Regions from separate parts of the Homo sapiens genome. Here region 2 is linked to region 1. Evidence: promoter capture Hi-C in 16 types of primary human blood cells and fetal thymus (Javierre and others, 2016). All regions are on one chromosome and are shown on one strand. Each heading gives the region's core, a stretch centred on a gene start or on the middle of the fragment in contact. The rest is flanking DNA. Distances are from core to core; before and after follow the strand shown. Region 1 holds the start of GPR84 (G protein-coupled receptor 84). Region 2 overlaps HNRNPA1 (heterogeneous nuclear ribonucleoprotein A1).

Region 1 (6,876 bases), core at 754-3,253:
CTCCTTGGGCAGTCTAGGGCTGAAACATTGATCAAGTGATGGAGAGACTTGATTTGGGAGGCTGGGGAGAGATTGTTGTGAAAATGCCCACATGTGTTATTTCACCTATTCTCCTATTACCTGGCCACTTTGGTCCTGGAGGAGACAGTCCTGAATTCTGGTGACTAGGGTCACAGTTCTAATGGAGCCTATGGAAACTCCGGGGCCCTCTTTTTAAAATGGAGCCATATGCTTGGCGGAATTGGCGGTTCATGGCTGCATAGAGCACAGGGTTGATGCAACCATTGAGCCAGGTGAGGTTGGCAGCAAGCATGTGGACCACCCGGGGAGCCTGGACTCTGGCATCCAGAATGTTGAGCAGCAAGAAGGGGATGTAGCTCAGGGCAAAGCAGAGGAACACAGCAAAACACATTCGAGTCACCTTCCCAAATTCCGATGAAGAATCCGGAGCTCTTCTGGCTCCTTTAATTGGCTGGGCTTTGGCAGATGCTTCTGGAGGGCTTTTCTCTGCCATCTGCTTAGCTCTCTTGCTGTTGATCTGGTCTCCCACTTCTGATGAGTCCCCTTCCAGGGTCTGGGTGGTGGCAGCACTGACTGGCTCAGATGAAATCCCCTCACTGGGTCCTCCTGATGCTAACCTGCTGTCCAGCTCCTGGAAACGACCAGGCATGGCCTCATCAGTCCTGGCCACATGGTTGGAGTGGATGCTTGCCTGTCGCAACTTGTATTGGTCCAGTGCCTGTGCTGCTCGTTTGACCTGGCGGTGGATGAGGCAATAGAAGATGCCAACACTGCTGAGCCCAAGCACAAAGTAGATGCCCATGAGGATGGTGGTGTAAGGCCGGCCTCGGATGCGGTCAAAGCTGCAGGTGCAGACTACAGGTACCAGGATATAAATAGGCCAGAGGGGAGCAAAGCTGGCCACGCCCACAACCCAGGTGCTCACCAGTGCCAGCACTATCCCCTTGGCACTGAAAACTTGGGGAAAAAGCTTAGGGTGGGCAATGAGGAGGTAGCGTCCCAGTGCGATGAGGCAGAGGGTCAGGATGGAGACAGAATTGGAGGCAAAAAGGAGGAGCCCAAATACCCTGCAGAAGGTGGCACCGGTGCGCCAGTGCAGGTGGAGGTAGGTGTCCACAGAGAAGGGCTGAAGGAGCGTGCAGTAGAGGAGATCAGCCAGTGTGAGGTTGGCTATGAGCAGGTTGAATCGGGTACGGAGCTTGGGCTGGATGGCCAAGGCCAGTAGGGTGAGCACATTGCCCACGGTGCCTGTCACAGCCACCACCACCCCCCAGCTAACTGCAACATAACGATAGCCCAGCACAGACTCATGGTAGCAGGAGAAGTTGGCGTCAGAGCTGTTCCACATGATAGAGGCTAAAGAGGCAGAGGGTGGAAGAGGAAGAGGGAATCAGAACCTAGCATTCAACTTAGATCTCTTGAACAGTTCTGGGACCCTGGACATCTAAACTGTTCCTGGACCTCACCTTAATTCAGTATCCTCCTGAACCATTCCCAGGCCTCTTCATCTCAAGATCCCTAACTCTCTCCTTAGGTTCTCTTAGTCCTTTCCCATTCTCAAATATTTCCCCAAGTTTTTATCTAAATATCTCTTGCCTAAATATCTTAGTCTTATTCTGCTCCAAACCTCAGTCCTCTTCTATATCCATCCCGCTGCTCTCAGTAAACCCAGTGCCCTCCAACTTTTTTAATTCCTTCCCCATCCCCAAAGACCCCCAGGAGTCCCCTCTCTCTATTCAGCATCGTGTATTCAGGATCCTCTCTGTATTCAGTTCCCTCTGCTCCTTTCCACTACACACACATATAGGCTTTAGTCATTTCTGTTTGTTACCACCTGGGAGATGAGGAGACCAAGAAGGTAAAAGTATACCCACAACAAAAGTGCTTACCTGAGTTTCTCAGCCTTCAATTCTTTCTATAATGGAAGAAGTTCAACTCACCCAAAGAGCAGTCCTTTCTGGTGGACAGTTAGGCTTCAAGCAGGAGACATCCTGCTCTTATGTATCCTATTATAGTCCACTGAAAGAATAAGAAACTCCCCCATTACCCAATCCCAGCCACTTCCTTCACCACCTCCGGTCCTACTCATTTTGCTTCGGCTAGTGAAATCTAGGCTTCTCTGTTGAAAGTCCCCCGCTACTTACCTCAGAGTGGTTTCACTCTTCCTTTCTCCTTCCTGAAACCCAAACTCTGTTTTCTTCCCCTCTTTGCATGGCAGAACTCATCTGTAAGATCATTGCCAAGAATTGCTAGGGCACGGAGTCAGAGCATCAGAACATTTGGGCCACTCCTCAAAGGGCCAAAAGATAAGACCAAGTTCCAGGAGCAACTTTAGGTACCCCCAGAAGCCTTGGGTTTGTTTCAGAGGAGCACTACCTTTCTTGTCTCCACGGCTTAGACATGGTTCAAGTCAGAGGGACCCATGTGACACCCTAGCACATTTGAGAAACCAAGTCAGATGAAGAAAAGTGGGGAATGAGGCATCCAGAATTCTGGTTTCATTCTCCTCAAGGGATCAGGGTCCTGTTCAATCATTCATTTATCCATTTACCCAACAACTTAGTACTGAGTGCCTACTATACACCAGACTCTGATCTAGACACTGGGGATACAAGAACGTCTGATATATGGCCTTGTGCATAGTCTACTAGGGGAGACAGATACATAAATATGCAAATGCTTAATCGATTCTCCAGAGCAAGGGTGAGTAAACTTCACCCTATGGGCCAAATCTAGTCTGCTGTTTTTGTATAGCCTGTGACCCAATCATGTTTTTTTTCCATTTAAAAATGGTTATATTTTAGGCCAGGTGCAGTGGCTCACGCCCATTATCCCAACATTTTGGGAGGCCAAGGAGGGCAGATCACTTGAGGTCAGGAGTTCGAGACCAGCCTGGCCAACATGGTAAAACCCCGTCTCTACTAAAAATACAAAAATTAGCCAGGCGTGATGGGTGCGCCTGTAATCCCAGCTACTAGGGAGGCTGAGGCAAGAGAATCGCTTGAACCCGGGAGGCGGAGGTTGCTTGCAGTTAGCCAAGATCACATTGCACCACTGCACTCCAGCCTGGATGACAGAGCAAGACTCCGTCTCAAAAAATAAAATAATAAATAAATAAGTAAGTAAAATAAAAATGGTTATATTTTAAATTGTTATATAAGTGCCTATGTAATATCCTCAGTTTTATCTCTTGATTAACACAGTTTAAAATATTTATAATCAGGCCCTTTGAGAAAAAGTTTGCTGAGGCTTGCTTTAAAATACTATATAGGCCTGGCTTGGAGGCTCATGCCTGTAATCCCAATGCTTTGGGAGGCTGAGCTGGGAGGATGACTTCAGGTCAGGAGTTTAAGACCAGCCTGGGCAACATAGTGAGACCCTGTCTTTACAATAAAAAAAAAAATAGCCAGCTGTGGTGATGTGCACCTGTAGTCCCAGCTACTGGGGAGGCTGAGGTGGGAGGATCATTTGAGTCTGGGAGGTCAAGACTACAGTGAGAAAGATTGTGCCACTATACTCCAGCCTGGGTGACACAGCAGGACGTTGTCTCTGAAAAATTAGAAAAACAAACTAACAGGCTGGGCGCAGTGGCTCATGCCTCTAATGCCAGCACTTTGGGAGGCCGAGGCAGGTGGATCATGAGGTCAGGTGTTCGAGACTAGCCTGGCCAACATAGTGAAACCCCGTCTCTACTAAAAATACAAAAAATTAGCTGGGCGTGGTGGCAGGCGCCTGTAATCCCAGGTACTTGGGAGGCTGAGGCAGGAGAATCGCTTGAACCTAGGAGGTAGAGGTTGCAATGAGTCGAGATGGTGCCACTGCACCTCAGCCCGGGCGACAGTGTGAGACTCCGTCTCAAAAACAAACAAACAAAAAACAAACAAAAAATACATCGCTGGGTGCAGTGGCTCACACCTGTAATCCCAGCACTTTGGCAGGCCAAGGCGGGCAGATCACTTGAGGTCAGGAGTTCAAGACCAGCCTGGCCAATATGATGAAACCCCGTCTCTACTAAAAATACAAAAAATTAGCTGGGTGTGGTGGCAGGCACCTGTAATGCCAGCTACTTGGGAGACTGAGGCAGGAGAATCTCTTGAACCTAGGAGGTGGAGGTTGCAGTGAGCCGAGATCGCGCCACTGCACTTCAGCCCAGGTGACAGTGCGAGACTCCGTCTCAAAAACAAACAAAAAACAAACAAAAAATACATGGCTGGGTGCAGTGGCTCACACCTGTAATCCCAGCACTTTGGGAGACCAAGGCGGGCAGATCACTTGAGGTCAAGAGTTCGAGACCAGCCTGGCCAATATGATGAAACCCCGTCTCTACTAAAAATACAAAAATTAGCCAGGCGTGGTGGTGCGCACCTGTAATCCTGGCTACTTGGGAGGCTGAGACAGGAGAATCGCTTGAACCCAGGAGGCGGAGGTTGCAGTGAGCCGAGGTTGCACCACTGCACCCCAGCCTGGGCAACAGAGCAAAAACTCTTTCTCAAAAAACAAAACAAAACAAAACAAAACAACCCAGAATGATATATCAGAGGCTTAGAGAAAAGGAGCATACTATTAAGTAGGAGGTGAGGAAAGGGTTCACAGAGAGGTTACTGAGCTGCATTCTGAATGATGAACAGGAGAGTTTTTTGGGAGATAAGTAGAGGGACATTCTAGACAAAGAGAACAGTATGTGTAGAGGCGCAGAGGTTCAGGTAGAAGCCAACAAAGGGCATGAGGTAGAGAACAACAGAGAAGAGCTTGGAGAGTTGAGCAGGCAGGGTCAAGGGGGACCTTGTGTATCGTGCTAAGGAGCTGGTTTCATGCTGAAGGAGTTGGTGAGATTTGCACTTAGATTGCTGTGAGTAAAGAATGAAGGCGTGCAGCCTGGGAGTGAGCGAAATGGGTAAAGAGGCACTAGTTCAGACGAGAGATAGAATGGCCCTAAGTTAGGGCCAGACCACCTGTACAACTGCATAGGGCCTTGCAGTTTGAAGGGCCTGGTGCTTGGTTAAATGCTCGTCAATCACTGTTTTTAAATTCTTAATACTATACTTTTTGAATAAGGGGCTCTGCTTTTTCATTTTGCACTGGGTCCCACAAATTATGGAGCCAGTCCTGGTTAGGGCAGTGGTTGTGGGAATGGAGGAATGATAAGGATCCATAGGTTGTTAGGAGGTCAAATAGGACTTATTTAGTGATTCATTGGATGAAGAGTTAGGAAGAAGGAGGAACTAGGATAACTTTCTGTTTTCCAGACAGATGGTGGTGCTCTTAATAAGATAGGAAATGTGGGAGGAGGAGCAGGCTTAGGGAAAGGGGTAAATAATGAATTCAGTTTTAAACTAGCAGACTTGAAGTACTTGTGGGGTCTGCTAGGATCCCAGACTCTCTAACCCCAATTTCTTCCAGTCCCTATCTCCTTCCCCACATGTGACCCAGCCCCTGCTTTTCTCTACCCACTCTTCTATAGGGCCTCTCTTGTCCCGCATCCTTCTGAATCCTCCCACCCCTTTTAAAGCTAGATTTACCTGGAAACAAACATGCAAACAAACACCAAAACACTCCTTATTGGGTTCCAATTCTGAACCCACAGTGAACACCCTCCTTTCAGCCTCACAGTTGACAAACCCAGGAGTCCCCCATTCCCCTCTCTTTCCTGTTTAACAGACATCATCCCAACTTCCCTCCTCCTTTCTTCTGCAAGACTGGGAAGTGGGTAGAGTGGGGGAAGTGAGCAGAGATGAAAGTCGGGAGGAACTCACATAGATTCTGGGTTTTGGTTTGGGCTTTTTTGTTTGAACTTCCTGCCTCTCAGTAGGGATAGAGGGGGTCAGGATTACTGGCTGCTCTTGGGAGTGTATGGTTGAACCACATTTTGGAGATAACGGAGAAACCATTTTCCTCACATACCATGTGAGAGACAGCTGAACAGTGTTTCCCTGTTCCACAGACCATTTAGGGGCCAGTTGAGAAGGTATTCCAGTATATCTGTAAATGGCACAGTCTCAGTTCTTCAGTCTTGGATACATGAGATCTTAATGAACCTTTGAAAGACTCAAGTCTCCTTATTTTGAAGACTGTGACACTGAGGTCCAGAGAGGGCAAGGACTGACTCAAGGTCACTATTTATGTGGGGCCAGAGCCTAGAGCTCAGATCCCCAGTCTCTGCCCCCCGTTTCTTCCTGTGCCTTGAGTCTCGCTGGCGTGGGTTTCCCACCAGACACACAAAAGCCTGGATTCTTTTCTTTGTCTGAGACTGAGTCTAGACCCATCTGCGTGGAATCTCGAAACACATTACAGGAGCGGCTTAGCCTCGGGCTTAGACTCCTTTTCCGGGTCGTTGGCGCCGCCTTGTGGAGTTGTGGCAAATTCTCAACAGCTGCAGCTGCAGTCCCAGACTTGGACTAGAAATGATCCCCCAGGCCAAGTTTACACGAGCTGGACGAGAGTGGGCGTGGGTGGGATGGGGAGCCTCTGCTCACTCTGCACAAGCCTCATATTTTGCCTCCCCCACCCCCGATTTCCGTTTCCCTCCTCCTTCTCGCTCCCTTTCCTCTTTCTGTGCCGGTCCCATACAGATACATTTAACGACAGAATTGCTCCCAAAACAGCGGGCAAAGACAGAGTCTGAGTCTAGGGGCGGAGGGCAGAACAAATTCAGACTTTATTGTCAGGGAGAGGAAAAAGGGGAGGACCGTGGGTGGGGGGCCTGGGTTGCTACATTGTCAAGCAGAAAGAGTTGATGGGAAGGGGAAGACCAGTGTAGGCCAGACCCCTCCCGGGTCGGCGGCTGAAGGGTTGACGATACGGAAACCACGGAGTCGGGGGTGGGGGAGAGGTGTCACACCCCCGCCCGAGTTGTGC
Region 2 (7,628 bases), core at 3,793-6,292, 76 kb before region 1:
CTTTGGCGGTGGTAGTGGTAGGTATCCAGTGATCCAAGTACTTGGTGTGACAGCTAGATTAGCCTTTTAGAGCTTGGGTTCTGGTGCTGTTGAAGCATTGTGTGGTACACTGCATGGTATATTAAAAACAAATGGGCTTGCTATGCTACCTCCTCCTAGCTTTAAGCTGGGGCCGCCTCACTCCCAAATAGTAGAGATAAGTGGATAGTGTTGTCTTTGAGTTAGATTAGTATCATAGAAGGATTTAGTATTTTAACTCCTTTGGGACCTTAGGCGCTTAGTTGATGTATCCAAGATACTTCTGCTTGCTGTGGCCCTGGATCCGTGAAGGCCTTCAAGGCTGAAGGGTATGCTTGTGCCACTCTGAAAATCTCTTTATTTTATGTCATGGTGAGTTAGGCCAGTTTTCTTTGTATTACTGGATTATTCAACTGAATGCCTTTCCCAGAGAATGAAATGCAAAGATTGGAGTCACCATAGTTTGGGAGAAAGGAAGGCTGATAACTCAACCTTATTTTATTCTGACTGCTAAACAGAATTGGAAACTAACATCATCCTCAGGTAACAGATAAAGGCCCTCTTTCCCATTCATAGGAAGCAATTTTGGAGGTGGTGGAAGCTACAATGATTTTGGGAATTACAACAATCAGTCTTCAAATTTTGGACCCATGAAGGGAGGAAATTTTGGAGGCAGAAGCTCTGGCCCCTATGGCGGTGGAGGCCAATACTTTGCAAAACCACGAAACCAAGGTATGGTATCTATGTAATTTTGGATAATGTCAAAAGAGTGTCTGTAGCTACTGCTGGGAAGAAAGCCCTTTAACTGCTATGTCTGGGCAGCAAAACGTTTATAGTTTAGAACCTTCAGAAAGTGATAATTTGATCACAAATTAGAAAAATCATGGGACCTCTTTACCACCTCCCTTGTAGTAGGGCCATTTTTAAATGGCCAGACACTTGAATTTAACTTTTATTATCCCAAATATGAAAACATTACTGTTGGCACTTTGAAACTTTAAAAGAAAAATTGTACTTTTCAGGTGGCTATGGCGGTTCCAGCAGCAGCAGTAGCTATGGCAGTGGCAGAAGATTTTAATTAGGTAAGTAAGCACCTTTTTGTGTGTTGACATAATTTTTTAAATTGCTGATGAACCCAATAACCCTAATGTAGCTGAGCAGTGCAACATAGTTAACATTATAATTGCAGTAATTGTGGATATAAAGTTAATATTCAGATCAGCAAAATTTGTGGGAAACAAACTTGATATTGGATTGTAGCCTTGAGTCTTAATATGTTTAGATTAACAACTTTATTCCATATTGTTCAACAGGAAACAAAGCTTAGCAGGAGAGGAGAGCCAGAGAAGTGACAGGGAAGCTACAGGTTACAACAGATTTGTGAACTCAGCCAAGCACAGTGGTGGCAGGGCCTAGCTGCTACAAAGAAGACATGTTTTAGACAAATACTCATGTGTATGGGCAAAAAACTCGAGGACTGTATTTGTGACTAATTGTATAACAGGTTATTTTAGTTTCTGTTCTGTGGAAAGTGTAAAGCATTCCAACAAAGGGTTTTAATGTAGATTTTTTTTTTTGCACCCCATGCTGTTGATTGCTAAATGTAACAGTCTGATCGTGACGCTGAATAAATGTCTTTTTTTTAATGTGCTGTGTAAAGTTAGTCTACTCTTAAGCCATCTTGGTAAATTTCCCCAACAGTGTGAAGTTAGAATTCCTTCAGGGTGATGCCAGGTTCTATTTGGAATTTATATACAACCTGCTTGGGTGGAGAAGCCATTGTCTTCGGAAACCTTGGTGTAGTTGAACTGATAGTTACTGTTGTGACCTGAAGTTCACCATTAAAAGGGATTACCCAAGCAAAATCATGGAATGGTTATAAAAGTGATTGTTGGCACATCCTATGCAATATATCTAAATTGAATAATGGTACCAGATAAAATTATAGATGGGAATGAAGCTTGTGTATCCATTATCATGTGTAATCAATAAACGATTTAATTCTCTTGAATGAAATGACAACTGTATGGATTTGGGACTGGCAGAGATTTGGACTTTCCCTACCCACTCCCCCTGATAATAATGTTGAATGCTTCTATCACAATTCAAGTTCAAAGCTCTGCCAGGGAATAGAAACTAGCTGCTGGCTAATGCCGCTCCATAAATCCGCAGATTTGAAGTGTCTGGGAGGCCTTTTAAAAATAACTAATATCAGAAAGCATTTTAATGAACGTAAAGATAGGCTTACATTAAAGGAAAACTGCAGTTTGACTGGGTTCTGGTTGGGTGGGCCTTCAGAGGTTCTATCAGTTAACTATACTAATTAATTTGGAGATTCAAACCATACCAATAGAAACTAAATTTTTCTACATAATTTCATGTTAACTGCAGTTTCCCTTTATGGCACAAGGGGTCACACAACCTACCTAAAATGTTAATTGTATAGAAAATGATTTCTAAACCTTTAACAGTTAATATCCAATAATGTGTTATTTGTACATAGATTCTTTTGAGCCTTACCTTTGGTGCTCTCTCAATTTCAGTGCTATTGTACCTAGTAGCATAGAGATTTGTCTATCAATAGGACTGTATATTCCATCCCATGGGTGTGTTGGAAGTTTGGGGAGGAGGAGGGTGGTGGGAGGTGGGTGGGAGGTGGTGGTGGGTGGGAAAGCATGGGTGATAGTTCCATGATACTGGCTGAGTTTGCAATAGCAGGTGGAACCCTAACTATTGAGGGAGTTTGCAGATACCTCAGGATTCGTGACAATGCCTTTAAAGATCCAGGAGAGATGTTCAGCTACTAGGAACTGCTAGCAAGTATAGCGCGAATGGCTCCGAGCTCAGACACTCTACAGCTGAGAGTAGACACTTGTGGTATGTGGAGTACAGATAAGCCAGGGGCAGGCCACGGCACGCTCCATGAAAGCTAGGAGGGAGTGAAATATCAGTGATCATCGCAAGGAAGGAGGCAGACAAGAGTAAGGCACACCTGACTCTTAGGACTAGCAGTCAGAACCAGGAGGAAAGGTTTTATTGCTATGCGGGTAGGTAAGAACAGATTTTACTTACATCCATATAGTTACTTAAAGTCCAGTTTTCTGTTAAACATTTTTCTTAATATATTGAGCCAAAACTAGTCCAGTTAAGCTGAACTTGGTTTTTCTGGAGATGAATTGTTTTAAATTGACACCCTATTGATGGCTCCCAGTTGAAGGAAGTGAGCACATTATTTGTACTGTGAATATAAATTTTTGCCCTTTTATTTATCTTCCTTTGACCCATTTCCTTAAAATAATGGCTCAAAGTAATAGACTTCCCCAAATGGTGGGGGGATGGGTGGGTTATTAATGGGAGGTATGGGGGGTTTAGCTTGAGATGGGACTTGGTCTTAGAGCTAGTTCTAAAGGTTGTTTACTTTTCTAGGGAGGAGTCTGCTACTAGTCTTATCAGCTCTTAAAAACAGAAACTCATCTGTCCAAGTTCGTGGCAGAAAGGTAAGTTTTTACAAATTAGTGCTCAGCAAAAGAATGCCCTGCGTTCCCAAAGTAAAAGAATGACAAGCTGTACCTTAAACCAAAACACTTCGTAATCTCATCCAATTGCAAAAAGAGTTATTAGCCAACCAGGTATTCCCAGTAGTGACAGTGGATATAACTGTGTAGTCATTCACCTCTGCTTATATGAATACTTTACAACCTCTTTTGCCTTTTGCAGGAACGTCCTTGTGAAGACCTTTATCTGAGCCACTGTACTTCGTTATCACTGCCATGCAGTTTACATGAGCTGTTCTGCAGCTCAAATTCCATTTTGTGAATGGGTTTTTTTTTTTAATAAACTGTATTTAACTTAGTTCTGCTTGTTTTGTCCTCCTTTGTGATATCTATGGTTAATAACATGTTGAAATTCAGGTTAGAGAGGATATGGTTGATTCTAATGTGAATTTCTATATTTAGATTCATCCCATTCAGCTTCATGGTTTAATGAAAATAGAAATGGGTTCTCACTACAGGAGTAATTCTTGGCTCACTATAAGTAAACTTTACTATTGATCCAATTGAGCATGTCCTTTTTCTAGCTCCCCTGGCAAGGGAAAATCAAGTTGTAGCACTGCCATTGAGCTCAGTATGTCTCTATTGGGACTTACGCTCACCATCTGTTGCAGAAGGACATAATGGATTTCATCTTTGGCAAACAAGTTGGGCTTATTGGCCAGCTGTCTCATACTTCAGTAGAATTCTCAAGCCAGGAGTAAGAAAGTGAACTGAATGAGAGGCAAGACTTAGCCTCTCAAAGATAGCCTAAAAATGTAAGGACTATTTTGGAAGCAATAATTGTACCCTCTAGCAAATGCTTAGGTTCTTGCGTGTGTGTGTGTGTGTGACGAAGTGTCCCTCTGTCACCCAGACTGGAGTGCAGTGACACTCTGCTCACTGCAACCTCTGCCTCCCAGGTTCAAGCAATTCTGCCTCAACCTCCCGTGTAGGTGGGACTAGAGGTGCCTGGCTAATTGTATTTTTAGTAGAGACACAGCGTTTCACCGTATTGCCCAGGCTGGTCTTGAACTCCTGGCCTTAGGTAATAAACGCCCACCTTGGCCTTCCAAAGTGCTGGGATTAGAGGTGTGAGCCACCGTGCCTGGCCACTAAACTGTTTCTGTTATTTTCAAGGAAAGTTTATCCAGCCTCAGTTTTGAGCCTAACAAAAGTGGAGGTAGGATTCTTGGGAAATTTTTGCCTTTTAACACCCATGCTGTTTTGAAACAACTGTATATGGGACTAAGTTCCATTAGCCTTTTGATACTTGGGGGAAGTAATGTCAGGGGTCTCAGTTTGTGACTTGGCATTTGCTAGAGGTTTTTATTGTAGACAATCAAATTTCCTTGAAGGGAAAGGAAAACTCCTAAGGATAGTTTCCTAAAAGCATTCCTATTGAAGAGAAACATTGTTTCAGTCCATGTACTTTGCTATATACTTTATTATAATACTGTGAAAAGTAAATTCCATTATTTTCTAAATGAGGAAATAGGCTGAAGATAAAATCCTGTCCCAAGTTCCTGCAACCACTGGATCATATAACTCAGATTGCTCTATTTTCAAACTATGTTCCACCTTGTTTAGGTCAGCACGCTGAACAAGTATGTGTGTGTATAAGACCTCACTAGTGATTTTCATGAGAGCAGGGGGATCTGACGTCTCTTAGGTAAACTAATTAAATTTCTGAACAGCTAGCCCAAGCCCCTGCCTTTGCAGCTTGAAATGTGGAAACAAGATGGCCGGGCGCGATGGCTCATGCTTGTAATCCCAACACTTTGGGAGGGCGAGGCGGGTGGATCACGATGTCAGGAGTGCCAGACCAGCCTGGCCAACATAGTGAAACCCCATCTCTACTAAAAATACAAAAATTGGCCAGGCGCGGTGGCTCATGCCTGTAATCCTACCTGGGAGGCCAAGGTGGGCGGGTTGCCAGCCTGGGCAACACGGTGAAACCCCGTCTCTGCTAAAAAAGTACAAAAAAATAGCCGGGCGTGGCAGCGGGCGCCTGTAGTCCCAGCTACTCAGGAGGGTGGGGCAGAAGAATTGCTTGAACCGGGGAGTCGGAGGTTGCAGTCAGCCGAGATCGCGCTACTGCTCTCCAGCCTGGGTGACAGAGCGAGACTCTGTCCCCCCTGCCCAAAAAAAATACAAACATTAGCGGGACATGGTGGCGCACGCCTATAATCGCAGCTACTCTGGAGGCTGAGTCAGGAGAATTACTTGAACCCAGGAGGCAAAGGTTGCAGTGAGCCGAGATCGTGCCACTACACTCTAGCCTGGGCGACAGAGCAAGACTCCGTCTCAAAAAAAAAAAAGAAAGAAATGTGGAAACATTGCCAGGTACAGTAGCTCAACACCTGTAATCCCAGCACTCTGGGAGGCCTAGGCGGGAGGGTCACTTGAGGTCAGGAGTTTGAAACCAGCCTGGCCAACATGGTGAAAAGCCCGTCTCTACTAAAAATGCCAAAATTAGCTGGGCATGGTGGCAGGTGCCTGTAATCCCAGCTACTTGGGAGGCTGAGGCAGGAGAATTGCTTGAACCTGGGAAGCGGAGGTTGCAGTGAGCCAAGACCCTACTGCTGCACTCCAGCCTGGGCGACAGAGCGAGAGACGCTGTCTCAAAAAAAAACAAAACAAAACAAAAAAAAACAATGTGGAAACATTGGATGCCTCATGCCTGTAATCCTAGCACTTTGGAAGGCCGAGGTGTGCAGATTGCTTGAGCCCAGGAGTTGGAGACCAGCCTGACCAACATGGTGAAACCCATCCCTACTAACAAATATTAGCCAGGCATGGTGGCATGCGCCTTTAGTCCTAGCTACTCAGGAGGCTAAGGTGGGCTGAGATCAGCCCACTGCACTCAAGCCTGGGCGACAGAGACTCCATCTCAAAAAAAAAAGGAAGTGCTTCAAGTTGTTTTTGTTCCCTAAACTTAGGCTAGAGACCACACTCCATATCTCCCTAATCACTGTGCTGCTTTTAGGTCTCAGTATCTGTGGTGTCCATTTTTGTTTGAGACAGTCTCGCTCTGTCGCCCAGGCTGGAGTACAGTAGCATGATCTTGGCTCACTGTAGCCTCGAACTCCCAGGCTCAAGCAATTCTCTCACCTCAGCTTCCAACATAGCTGGGACCACAGGCATATGCCACTGTACCCACCCACTAATTTTTTTTTTGTAGAAACAGGGTCTCCCTATATTGTCCAGGCTCGTCTCAAGCTCCTGGGCTCAAGCAGTCCTCCCACCTCAGCCTGCGGTGTCCAGATCAGAACTTGGATGTAAGGTTTTAATGTTGGAATGGAGCTAGTAAAATTGAATAAAAAGTAAATGTAAAATCTTCTGAAAAGGTAAGCTGTGTAATTCAGTGACTGGGAATACTGGAGACTATACAACTCCAAGCAAGGAGATTGTGTCCTGTCAGGGAGGTTTGACTGGACTTTAACTGATATGGGTAAGGAATCTGAAACTTAGTGAATTATATTCTGTTTCAAGAAGAAGCAAAATAGACTAATAAAAAATATCTAGGCTGCGCACAGTGGCTCACGCCTGTAATCCCAACACTTTGGGAGGCCGAGGCAGGCAGATCATTTGAGGTCAGGAGTTCGAAACTAGCCTGGCCAACATGGTGAAACCCATCTCTACTAAAAATACAAAACAATAGCCAGGCATGGTGGCGGGCGCCTGTAATCCCAGTTACTCAGGAGGCTGAGGCAGAGAAGGTGGAGGTTGAGGTTGCAATGAGCTGAGATCGCGCCACTGCACTCTAGCCTAGGCGACAGAGCGAGACTCTGTCTCAAAAAAAAAAAAAAAGCCAGGCGTGGTGGCTCAAGCCTGTAATCCCAGCACTTTGGGAGGCTGAGGCAGGCAGATCACCTGAGGTCGGGAGTTCAAAACCAGCTTGGCCAACATGGAGAAACCCCATCTCTACTAAAAATGCAAAATTAGCTGGGCATAGTGGTGGATGCCTGTAATCCCAGCTACTTGGGAGACTGAGGCAGGAGAATCACTTGAACCCGGGAGAAAGAGGTTGTGATGAGCTGAGATCACGCCATTGTACTCCAGCATGGGCAACAAGAG

Evidence for each region. Contacts are between HindIII fragments. The CHiCAGO score rates a contact against its expected background, and 5 or more counts as called.
Region 2: a contact is called between a fragment that was not itself captured here and the fragment with the promoter of GPR84 in region 1, in 17 of 17 cell types (monocytes, fetal thymus, naive CD8 T cells and 14 more). The highest score is 12.8, in monocytes.

The regions. Positions count from the first base shown.
Region 1 is chr12:54,362,483-54,369,358 of GRCh38, forward strand. It overlaps GPR84 (G protein-coupled receptor 84), which reads right to left and starts at 2,004. Exons shown (of 2, transcript NM_020370.3): 1 at 1,911-2,004; 2 at 1-1,377. The coding sequence starts at 1,369. The coding sequence ends at 179. All of the region lies in intron 1 of GPR84-AS1 (GPR84, ZNF385A, ITGA5 and GTSF1 antisense RNA 1), which reads left to right. ZNF385A (zinc finger protein 385A) reads right to left here. Exons shown (of 7, transcript NM_015481.3): 7 at 6,654-6,876. RefSeq lists an enhancer at 1,933-2,022. The HindIII fragment of the contact is 7,569 bases long and covers 990-6,876 here.
Region 2 is chr12:54,283,218-54,290,845 of GRCh38, forward strand. HNRNPA1 (heterogeneous nuclear ribonucleoprotein A1) reads left to right here. Exons shown (of 11, transcript NM_031157.4): 8 at 1-17; 9 at 595-750; 10 at 1,041-1,100; 11 at 1,332-3,870. The coding sequence ends at 1,096. Among named protein-coding and RNA genes, the nearest start is that of HNRNPA1, 6.3 kb to the left of the region's middle. The HindIII fragment of the contact is 6,133 bases long and covers 1,977-7,628 here.